2 separate regions of the Homo sapiens genome follow, and region 2 is linked to region 1. The links are contacts of gene promoters, found by promoter capture Hi-C in blood cells and fetal thymus (Javierre and others, 2016). All regions are on one chromosome and are shown on one strand. Each heading gives the region's core, a stretch centred on a gene start or on the middle of the fragment in contact. The rest is flanking DNA. Distances are from core to core; before and after follow the strand shown.

The links. The method cuts DNA at HindIII sites, captures the fragments that hold promoters and counts their contacts. A CHiCAGO score of 5 or more calls a contact.
Region 2: a fragment that was not itself captured here is called in contact with the fragment with the promoter of EIF1 in region 1 in 1 of 17 cell types (non-activated CD4 T cells); the score reaches 5.1 in non-activated CD4 T cells.

Annotation. Positions count from the first base shown.
Region 1 is chr17:41,687,635-41,690,335 of GRCh38, reverse strand. It overlaps EIF1 (eukaryotic translation initiation factor 1), which reads right to left and starts at 1,451. Exons shown (of 4, transcript NM_005801.4): 1 at 1,267-1,451; 2 at 395-558; 3 at 147-248. The coding sequence starts at 1,297. RefSeq lists enhancers at 1-841, 767-856, 842-1,750 and a silencer at 1,237-1,626. The HindIII fragment of the contact is 2,180 bases long and covers 1-1,671 here.
Region 2 is chr17:40,647,013-40,649,712 of GRCh38, reverse strand. SMARCE1 (SWI/SNF related BAF chromatin remodeling complex subunit E1) reads left to right here and starts at 1,895. Exons shown (of 11, transcript NM_003079.5): 1 at 1,895-1,940. RefSeq lists a silencer at 1,362-1,656. The HindIII fragment of the contact is 6,478 bases long and covers 1-2,700 here.

The DNA.
Region 1 (2,701 bases), core at 202-2,701:
ACAGAAATAAGTCTATGTACTTTAAAACCCAACTGAGGTTTTGCTCAGCCTTACAAAGCCAACTTTTATGTCCCCAGCAGAAGCTAACAGACAGGATCTGAGATTTGCCAGCAGAGAGGCACAAATCAAGTAGTGACTGAACTCACCTCTACGAGGAACTGGCATATGTTCTTGCGTTGGTCACCCTGTAGCTGAATTACTTCTCCATATTCCGGATGCTCAATTACAGTACCATTGCAGGCAAACTTCTGCAAGCACAAAGGAAAACGAATTAGGCCTAGCAAGAGCATGAACGCATTTATCACCCCTTCCGCTAACAATACATACAACACAGCTGGCACCCCCTTGTGGACAAATCCATTATGACTTTCCCAAAATCTCACTGAAGACCTACTTTCTTAAACGCCTTCACTAGTTTCTTTTTATCGTAATCATCAGCGATCCCTTGGACAGTAGTAAGGGTCTTCCTGCCGTTTCTCTGTTGAATTCTTATATGGATATAATCCTCAGTGCCAGCAGGAAGCAGGTCATCACCCTTACTTGCATCAGCAAAGGGGTCTGAAAAAAAAGGTTAAGCTCGTTCAGAGCTGTCAAAGATAGGATGCCACTGCCATCCCCTCGGTCCCCAGGTGTTTTGCGCGTGCAGAAAACAACACTGAAATCGTCAGGGCTTGGGCCAGGCCGAATGTGTCCTTTGCTGGCTCTCCCCGAGCAGGTCAGTCCGGGACGGCCAGCTTCCCCAGGCTCGGGGAACGCCCGGGCCTCCCGCCCTCCCTGGGAAGCCGATCACATGTCGGGGGAGTCCGGGCTGCCAGGCGGTGCCCCACCCAGCTGATGCAACCCGCCGGAACCCGAGCTCCCGAGGCGGGGCTAAGCCTCCCACCCCCATTGGTGCACCCGCTTGCCACTTAGGGCTGGCACCGCCTTTCCCTCCGGATCCGTGACAACGGGTGGTGACGTAACGGACGTGACGCAATGGTGACGGGAGGGGCGGGTGTGGCCCGAGGAGGCCCAGGAGCCATTAGTAAATGCGCCACTGAGACGCCGGGCCCGCCCAAGGGCTGACCTACCGCCTGCTCCTTCCGGTCGCGCTCAGGGTCCGACCCCGGGGCCCAGGCCTTGATCCCGCTGCCCTGCGACCCTGGTCAAGTTTCCCCTGCCCGAGCTTACGAAGGCCCGGAGCGCTTGGCAACTTCCCGGAACACGTCTCCGGGCCCGGAAGGCCCCGCTGCCCCACCCGGGCCCGCGACCTTTCCCATAGCTTACCGAAAGAGTGGAGGTTCTGGATAGCGGACATACGATACGATTCCTTTTCCTCGGTGGAAACGGCCTGCGGAAGGCGGCGGCGGCGGTGGCGGGAGAAGGCGGGCAGGGGGGAACGGAACGTCGGGAAGCGAGGGGGCTCAAGGGGGAGGCTGCTGAATCCTCGGCGGCGGCTCAGTGACTGGGGCAGAGGGGCGGTGCCTGTGTTTAGTTATATAGCCGCGCCTCTGACGCCAGCGCGCTGCCCTCACGTCCTGACCCCACCCACAGCGTCGTGCCCCAAGCGCCCAGGCGGCGCCGCTTCCAATTGGTTTGGAGGCGGGGACATGGGATGGCGCTTGCGCAGGAAGTCTGCGGCAGGAGGGCGTCCTCTTGACTCTAGGAGAGCTGGGAGGGGGAGGGAAAGCTTGATCTGTCTCGGAGCCTGCGCAGTGCGAGTGGACGGTGTCTGGGTGCCGAGAATACCGGCCCAGGTTTCGAGCGCGCCTACGCACTGTGTCCTTTGGTACGTTCCACCTTCTTGACCCTGTTGCATCCCTGTCTTCTCGAAAAGGGGAGTTTCATATGGTAAATGAACACTCCTTAGAGAGGATTTAGATGATGAGCCTCCCAAACACGAGAAATCCCCGTTGTGTCAAACCCACCTACCTACCCACCCTACTACCCACGGAGTCACAGCGGGATTTAGGGCGGCACTTTGATTAATCAACATACAATAATATAATCAAAACGGTAACCGCATAATTTAGATTGCCATTTAGATTTATTCTAAAGTGGGTTAATCCGATCTAAAATTTTCATTTAGATTAGATTAATCCATCTAAGGAAAAAGTGTGCCCAGCTCATTGGCATGAGTTCAAGGTATAGTAACTGGTTCTGGGCCCCCCCGAGAATAATTCTGGCACCAGAGGGCGTCCTTCATGTGGCACAGCTTGTGTGGAGTAGAGCCTTCCTAGAGTTTAGATGAAATATTTCCTTCAAAACAGTCAACCTTTCTTGCTTTCAGTTTATTTATTTCAACACTCAGTTGTAGGGGTAAGTAGAGTGGTGAAAAGAGACCAGGAATTTTAGACTCAAAGGCCTCCGGGGATAGGCAGGTAAGTAGGATCAAGGAGTGCAAACAGCCAAGTGTGATGTAATGGGGTGGACTGGGGGCTGGAGTAAGAACTACGGGCTGCAGTGGCCGCTCACCTCCAGCCCATTGTGCTAGATCTTTTTCAAGAGTGCCAGGAAATCCAGGTGTTTACATAAAATCTCTTGATTTTTAAATATTGCCAATAAATTGATTTTTTTTTTGAGACAGAGTCTCACTTTGTCGCCGAGGCTGGAGTGCAGTGGCACTGTGTCGGCTCACTGTAACCTCCGTCTCCTGGGTTCAAGCAATTCTTCTGCCTCAGCCTCCCGAGTAGTTGGGGTTACAGGCATCCACCACCACGCC
Region 2 (2,700 bases), core at 83-2,582, 1.0 Mb after region 1:
GTATCGTACTTTAATCCTTTACATGTCTCTGATGGATATATACATATATATATATATAATTTTTTTTTTTTTGAGACAGAGTCTCGCTCTCTCGCCCAGGCTGGAGTGCAGTGGCGCCATCTCCGTTCACTGCAAGCTCCGCCTCCCGGGTTCACGCCATTCTCCTGCCTCAGCCTCCCCAATAGCTGGGACCACAGGCGCCCGCCGCCACGCCCGGCTAATTTTGTTTTTGTATTTTTAGTAGGGACGGGGTTTCACCGTGTTAGCCAGGATGGTCTCGATCTCCTGACCTAGTAATCTGCCCGCCTCGGCCTCCCAAAAGAGCTGGGATTACAGGCGTGAATATTTTTTAACAAGCAATTTCATGTACATTTTCTCAAGCACCACTCAAGCTGCCTGTCCACGGGGCAGACGACTTCTCCTTTAGTCTTTCTCTTGAATATGCTCTTCAATTTCATTAATCTCTATTCATGAGTATAACAATATTGGAAAAATTGGACAGAGTATCACTTGTTCCTCGCTTTGCAGACTAGAGATGCTTCTAGTCCCTGTTGGCACACTCAGGATGGGGGCTACGGGAAGCCCAAGAATTCAGCCTCTCTCTAAATGTCAACTGTTTTCCAGTAACCACAGGTCAGGGATCCCATACGTTCATTCTCCCTCCACAGTGACCCACAATATCCATCGGGTGTTTATGTATCCAAAGAAGAGGCTACTCATTCCATCTGGTAAACCAACATACTCATGATTTAGTGGAAAGAGCCCTGGAGTGGCACAGAGGGCTGCCTCAATACACACTTACTGAGCGTCTAACAATGAATGGGTCAAGCCCTTCGTAGGCACTGGCAATGGGAAGATGACCAATACAGACGGCTGAACCTTGCTTTCAAGGCCTTCATAAAGCACTGGAGATGACAAACACGGTCCGATACAAAGGGTCGGGTTCAGGACTCCAACCATTATTATCAAAGAGCCACGGGAATACAAAGGAAGGATTACTAGGGGGGAAGTTCCAGGAGGGCATCACAAAGAGACCTCTGAGCTGGATCCAGAAGGACAGATGAGTTTAAGCTGAAAGTGGGGACGGTCGTTCCCGCTGGTGGGAACCGAAGGAGCCGAGGCAGCGCTGAGGCGGAGACCAGGTGGCACCCGCGGCGCTGCAAGGACACACAAGCTGTTGCGAGGGGGTCAACTCTCCGGGCCTTGGCTTAGAAACCTGGGACGATTACACCCTAAAAGCGCTTGGAAAAACTGCAGAACTCGTGCTGATTTTCGCCAAAGCTACTCCCCCGCCGTGAGGGCAGGAAGCCCTGCGAGGCGCCTGCGAGGACGCAAACGCCGCGAAGCAAGTCCTCCACGCCTCCATCCCAGGTTTAGTGAAGTGTAGACTCTGACCCACAGCCTAAAGGAAAGCAAGACCGGAGTCGGGGAGGGCCCCTCCAGGAGCGGGCTCAGCGGGAGTCTGGCCGAACTGCTTGCTGCCACAGTGGTTCCGCGGCCTCGCGCTGAGCGCCATCCGCCGTCTCCCACCGCGGCCCCCACCGCCCCTCCGCAAGGCTCGGCACCTCCCGCCACTTCCTCGGTCGCTGCGGCGGCTCCGGCTCCTCACAGCCGCTAAACCCAGGCCTATTCTGTGTTAGGTCGGGCCTCCTCGGCCCTCTTCGCCGTGACGAATCAGCGCCCGGCTGGGAAAGTATCAAAATTCGGGGAGTTTTGAGGATCCAATGGGTCCTGAAAAAAATCCCTGAGTGTGCTAAGCATCACCGCATCTTCACTAGAAGGTTAGTTTTTCTAAAGAGGGTCGGGTGGGGCCCGGAAAAAAAAAAAAATTAAGAAGAGTGTGGAAAGTGCGAGTGCGGAAGCTCCGGACGCGAGGGGCGGGGCGAGCGCGGGACAAAGGGAAGCGAAGCCGGAGCTGCGGGCGCTTTTTCTGCCCGCGGGTGAGTGTTTCCAAGTGGGACGGACCGGGTCGGTGGGTGCAAGTCGTGGTGTCCCCGCTTGGCTAGACCCCGAGTTCCCGGGGGTTGCTGGGGTTCAGCCTTGGCCGTGGGGCCAGAGCCAGGAGCCGGTTGAGGCCTCCTTGAGGCCTAGCAGAGCGAGGGTTGGGAGGGAGTCCCATCTGGGGCCCCCTCCTTGGAGGCAAGGCCAGTCCCCCGAAATTGGTCAAAGCACCTGTGAATACCCCGTTTTAGGGGAGTTGCTAGTAAAGTACATTCTCCAAGACAAAGAGAGCGACCTCAGGAAGCCGTGGGCAAGGCAGGTCCGTGGTTCACCCCCCACCCGGGCAGAAGGTTCCCCCATTGGTTCAGGCAGCGACTTGAGGACGAGCAGAGCTCTGAAATAGTTTGGCCTGGGTTTGAAACCCAACTTTGGCACTTCCTGGCTGCATATGGCTTCAGACAAGTTGTTTAAACTTTCCGAGACTCCCTTGTTTCATCTGTAAAATGGGGATAGCTGTACATATAAAGTACTTGTGAGTGTTAAGCGAAATAGTGTCATAAGCGTACCCCGTATAAAGTATTTCTTGAACAAATATTTATCGGGTATTTATTTTTATGCCAGGCACCAAAGATGGATCCAACGGTGGACAAATGTACAAGCCCACTCTTAAATTTTGTATTCTAGCAAAAGAGAGCAATAATTTTAAAGTATTAACAATGAAGTATAACGTACAGGGAGCTTATGTTAGTTGTCAGGGTC